Regions from separate parts of the Homo sapiens genome. Here region 1 is linked to region 2. Evidence: promoter capture Hi-C in 16 types of primary human blood cells and fetal thymus (Javierre and others, 2016). All regions are on one chromosome and are shown on one strand. The core of a region is centred on a gene start or on the middle of the fragment in contact, and the rest is flanking DNA. Distances in the headings are between cores, read along the strand shown.

Region 1 (2,857 bases), core at 195-2,694, 530 kb before region 2:
TCAACTCTCGCAACTATTCTGTTATTGCTTCCCTCTTTACCTTCTGCCTACAAACCTTCCCTGTGTGCTGCCTCTGCCTCATGGGCTTTGCATTTCTCTTATATCAAAACTAATTCAGGCTGGGCATGACGGCTCACTCCTTTAATGTCAACACTTTGAGAGGCCAGACAGGAGGCTCACTTGAGGCCAGGCGTTCAAGACCAGCCTGGGCAACATAGCAAGACTCTGTCTGTACAAAAATTTAAAAGTTTTTAAAAATTAGCTGGGCATGGTGGCATGCACCTTTAGTCCTAGTTACTCAGAAGGCTGAGGTGGGAGGATCACCTGAGTCTGGGAGGTTGTGGCTGCAGTGAGCCAAGATCATGCCACTGCACTCCACCCTGAGTAACAGAGTGAGACCCTGTCTCTAAAAATAAATACATAAAGTAAAATAAAATAAACTCAAAAAATTGTTGATTGAACACCTATCCGGTCCTGACACTACACCATATATGGAGGCTACAGTGGGAACTTGGACTTTGCAGAACATCCCCTATTCACAGTTTCCTCAACTGTACATGGAGTCCCACTATAAAACTGTGCCTGTCTCAAAGGGGTGTGATGATGGGTTAAATTAGAAAGTCCAGACAAGGCACAAAACGCTGCCTGGTACATGGTAGGTCCTCATTTCATGTTAGAATGCAGCGAGAAATACAGTAAGGTAAACAGGAAGTCAGGAAACGGGGTGGAATGTGGTGGGCAGAGAGAAGTCCCCATCGAATGTCTTCTCTGTCCATAGGAAGCGAGGCCACCTGCCAAGGTGTGAGAAGAGCAGAAGAGGCTTACATGGATGATGGGAAGCTCGGACAGTGAATGAATTAGGAACATGGAGGTGAGGATACAGTGCTGGAGGCCCTCCTGGAGACCACAAATGTAGAATGGCACCAATTTGGTGCTTGGACCATTGTCTCCAAAAAGGCCAGCCACTGGGCATCCCCTCCAGCCACACGTTCTTCCCAGCACTTGACGAGCTGTCCCTGGAACGCCTTGTGTATTTGCGTCTAGAGAGTAAAATTGGCAGCCGGGCACAGTGGCTCACACCTGTAATCCCAGCACTTTGGGAGGCCAAGGCAGGAGAATCACTTGAACCCGGGAGGCAGAGGTTGCAGTGAGCCAAGATTGCGCAACTGCACTCCAGCCTGGGAGACAGAGCGAGACTCTGTCTCAAAATAAAATAAAATAAAATAAAATAAAATAAAATAAAATAAATATATGTATATATGTATGTGTATATATTAGCATGCTGAAATTTAAACAATATTTCCCAAAAAAGTAAATTTAACCTGGCAACAACAACAGAAATGGAAACAACAGCGTAAGGATGGTATTTAAAAAAAAGAAAAATCCATTTAACACCAACTCATTCATGCTTACAAAAATAGCGTTAAGTAAATAAGTAACTCTGCTCTTTCCATCAAATAAGATAGTGTAGGACACCAGAATGTTCCCCTCTCGGAATGACATAGAAATACAAGGGAGGGACACGGGGGTCCAGGGAAAGGCTAATTTGGTCAGAGAAGGAGGCAGCTCTGTAGGCTCACCTGGGGCAGATCCAGACGGTCCATCCCTCAGAGGTTGTAGGTGGAAACCTGGGTGGTATCAGGAGAGGAAACACAGGACAAGAGCTTGGAGTTTAACAGAAATATGTCTGCACAGGCTGGGCGTGGTGGCTCACACCTGTCATCCCAGCACTTTGGGAGGCTGAGGCAGGAGGATCACTTGAGGTCCGAAGTTCCAGACTAGCCTGGCCAACATGGAGAAACCACATCTCTGCTAAAAATACAAAAATTAGCTGGGCATGGTGGTGGACGCCTGTAATCCCAGCGACTCAGGAGGCTGAGGCAGGAGAATCACTTGAACTTGGGAGGCAGATGTTGTAGTGAGCCAAGATTGCACCACTGCACTTCTGCCTGGGCAACAGAGCAAGACTGTGTCTCAAAAAAAAAAAAAAAAGGGAGAAGAAAAGAAAAGAAACAGAAAAGAAACATGTCAGCACAGATATTTGAGAACCTCAGGAACACCATAGATCTGCTGTTTGTCCCACTGACCTGGTCACCACACAGGGTAAATAAATCAGGGCAGTTTTGCTGTAAGATCTGCTTCTTCAGCTGGAAAACAAAAGAATTCACCCCCCTGGGAGTGATCGTAGGGATCCTGCTATCCTTCCTGATGCCACCTGCTTTCCCTGTCCCTTAGGGTCACCAAGGAGGTGTGGGGTTGTCTGAAGCAGAGGGAGACTGGGCAGCCACACCCAAGGACTCGAAAGCGGCTCTGTGTGATGATTCCACAATCTGTCTCCAGCCAAACTCCTCTCTGTGCTCGGATCCAGCAGTCCAACTTCCTACTCAGCATCTCCTCCAAAATACCCCAAAGGCAACTTCACCTTGACATTTCTACACCAGAAACTGACCGGGCGTGGTGGCTCATGCCTGTAATTCCAGCACTTTAGGAGGCCAAGGCAGGAGGATTACTCGAGCCCAGGAATTCAAGACCAGCCTGGGCAACATAGCAAGACCCCATCTCTAAAAAAAAAAAAAAAATTAAAAACTAGCTGGATATGGTGGTGCATGCCCATAGTCTCAGCTACTCAGGAGGCTGAAGTGGGAGGATCACGTGTCCCCAGGAGTTCAAGGCTGCAGTGAGTTATGGTCATACCACTGCACTCAGCCTGGGTGACAGAGCAAGACCCTGTCTCTAAAAAATAATGGTAATAAAATAAATTGTAAAAATAAAAAAAAACAACAGAAACTATCAGCAATCCATCTCCTCCTCCAGGGTGTTCTACTTGGGTGAATATGACTATATTAGTCTGTTCTCT
Region 2 (2,870 bases), core at 44-2,543:
AAAAAAAAAAGGACCAGACATATTGCATTGTTAACAAACTAGTTGTTAACCTTATGACCTCTGTAAAGGTCTCAGGGATTTCCAGAGGTCTGGGGACCACACTTTGAGAATCACTAGATTAAAAGGGGGAAAACATGGGAGGAAAAAAAGGTCACATAATGGAAACATACTGTTGGATTGAATTTCGTATATAAAAACCCTTTACTGAAATAAAGAGTAGAGACTTCAAGTACCAAGAGAAGCAGATTAGAAGAGGAGGAAGGCTCTAGGGACTGATCAGGTCTGGAGGCAGGGTTTTAAATGGGCCTTGAAGGGTTCGTGCAGTTTGGAAGGAAGGGATGGGAGGGAAAAGCTTGCTGAATCGTATAAATGAACAAGACCCTGATGGTGAGCTCTTGAGGATATGAAAGGCAAAAAGCACTAAGGCCGGGCTTTTGTTCCTCTGTGGCCCTGCATATATGAGGAGGTGATGAGTAATTCTATATTTTTATCAGCTTTACCGTTTAAAACTCCAAGGGAGGAAAACCCTTCAAACTGATAGGCTTGGGGCTTGGTGAAGGTGGGGTATTAGTGAAAAAGATGTGAAGTTTCTTTATCGAAAATACATGTATGTCCAAGAAATTCTCTGTAGATAAAAACTAACAAGAAAAAGAGTTTGTCAGAGAGGAAAAGTAGTTTTGCTAATTTATTTTTGATCATTTGCAAAGCCCATGGAAGTGTGTGGCAAGAGGATTGTGGTGTCTTAGGATATTCACATAGGTCTGAAACAAGGAAAACATACTTCTGTTGAAAGCACCATTCCAACATATTGTTATTAGCAGTCCCTGAACTAACGGGTAGTGGGTGGGTACTGTGTCCATCAGCTCAGCGAACCGCAATTGCCTCATTGACAGCAAGCCCAGCAAGGAATCACTTGGAATATTAATTTCCGTGGCCTTTCGCAATCACACGAAGCTTGGCTCCCTGCGCTTGCCGTAACGCGGCCTGTACCATTGCTTTCCGGGTGGCGGGGGGGATTTGGCAGCAGCGGAAGAAGGAGACCGGAGGGTGTGTGTTGGGCAAAGCCGGAGGCAGAGGAGGACGATTGTTTTACGGATCCCGTGATCGGCCCGTCCTTCTCCCCTTTCCCCCCCTCCCTACCGCCCCTGTCCCGCCGGGGAGCGGCGGCGGCCTTGGACTTTGCTGTCTTTCCTCGCGGAGACAGGTGAGTGTCGGCGCGCGGGCTCCCCGGGCTTCGCTCCCCACCCCCCGCGTCTCCGGGGCCGGTGGCGGCGGCCGGCCGGGGAGGCGGCCTCGGCGCACAGTAATGGCAGCGCTGTGAGCAGGGGAACGCGAGCTGACAGCCGCCGCCGCCGCCGCCTCCGCCCACCTTCCTCGCCGGGGCTTCGTCTTTCACTCCTTCGGGCTGCCTCCCCCTCCCCTTGTCCCCTGCCCCTTGCCCTGCTTCTGCAGAAGGTAACCCCGCTGAGGGTCGGGGAGCCGGGCTGCAGGCGCCGGGAAACTTCCCTTCCCGGTTAATGGGTGGCGGGGCTGGGGCGGAGGAGAGGAGTTGGGGGCGACGAGGTGTGGGGAGAGGGATGAAAGGGGGAGGCCCGGGAAGATGGTATCCTGTAAGTGACCTCGGCTCCCCAGAGCGCTGACCCGTAAGCCCTGCCACCCCCTGGACTGGATCCCGGGCCTCCCCAACCCGATCTTGGCCGCCTCTCCCGCGGCCCCATTTTCCTTCGAAGGAGGGAAGGTGAGAGTGCGTGTATTCTTCTACATATTTACGTGCTCACACGAATACACAACTCTGTGTGTTTGTGTGTGTGTGTGGGGGGGGGCATCTCATGCATCCTTACCCCGAGTGTTTTCACTTTTGTTTCCGCAGACTGCAAAGATTGATAGCTTTGGGGAGGAGTATCCTACGTGCATGCTAGACTTCTTGTCTCAACCCTTAGGGTCTGGTGAAATAAGATCCTCACACGCTTTCTAGCACTTGCTTACCCTCTAGAGAGTCTGGACCATTCCCTACCATTACGTGCATGCAAATAAAACATCTGTGAATTGCAGACTGTTATTAATGTTAAGTCCACATCTTTGCCCCATGGATTAATATTAACAGTTGAAGGCCAGTACCCTGGGCGTTTAAATTTTGAAGATAAGATGCAAAATATTAACGTTCGCTATAGATTGTGACTGTTCAACATAAACGTCTTTGAACTAGACCTGGCCAAGCCTACCTTCGTAGTAAAGTATCGGAAATAATCACTTTGATCTGATTGACAACTGACTACATAATAATCGCTTAAAAACATTCAAAACACTGTTGCCTACCCTTTAGAATCTTACATTCCTTTTCAAGACAGACACATGAACAAATGAGCTATACTTTGCTTCTTTTGCCCTTATACAGTATCTGGAAGATCCTTCCAAAAGAGTCGCGTGAGATAAGAGAAGTACACAGTTTTTTTGTTTTGAGATGGAGTTTTGCTCTTGTCACCCAGGCTGGAGTGCAGTGGTGCGATCTCGGCTCACTGCAACCTCCGCCTCCCGGGTTCAAGCAATTCTTCTGCCTTAGCCTTCCATGTAGCTGGGATTACTGGCATGCGCCACCATGCCCGGCTAATTTTGTATTTTTAGTGGAGATGGGGTTTCACCATGTTGGCCAGGCTGGTCTTGAACTCCTGACCTCAGGTGATTCGCCTGCTTAGGCCTCCCAAAGTGCTGGGATTACAGGCCTGAGCTACTGCGCCCAGCCCACAGTGTTTTGAATTACTTGTTTTTTTCAATTGCTGTTTATGAGTTGGGGGAACATTTCTACAATGTGCATGCACATAGCGTGGGAAAAATTCCTTTTCAATTGCTTTTTGAGTATTTGGATGTTCTCC

What was found. The method cuts DNA at HindIII sites, captures the fragments that hold promoters and counts their contacts. A CHiCAGO score of 5 or more calls a contact.
Region 1: a fragment that was not itself captured here is called in contact with the fragment with the promoter of CUL2 in region 2 in 1 of 17 cell types (activated CD4 T cells); the score reaches 6.6 in activated CD4 T cells.

What each region holds. Positions count from the first base shown.
Region 1 is chr10:35,619,726-35,622,582 of GRCh38, reverse strand. No RefSeq gene overlaps it. Among named protein-coding and RNA genes, the nearest start is that of GJD4-AS1, 13 kb to the right of the region's middle. The HindIII fragment of the contact is 4,542 bases long and covers 1-2,857 here.
Region 2 is chr10:35,088,764-35,091,633 of GRCh38, reverse strand. It overlaps CUL2 (cullin 2), which reads left to right and starts at 1,293. Exons shown (of 21, transcript NM_003591.4): 1 at 1,293-1,455. RefSeq lists an enhancer at 873-1,012 and silencers at 931-1,119, 1,173-1,372, 1,393-1,522. The HindIII fragment of the contact is 6,346 bases long and covers 957-2,870 here.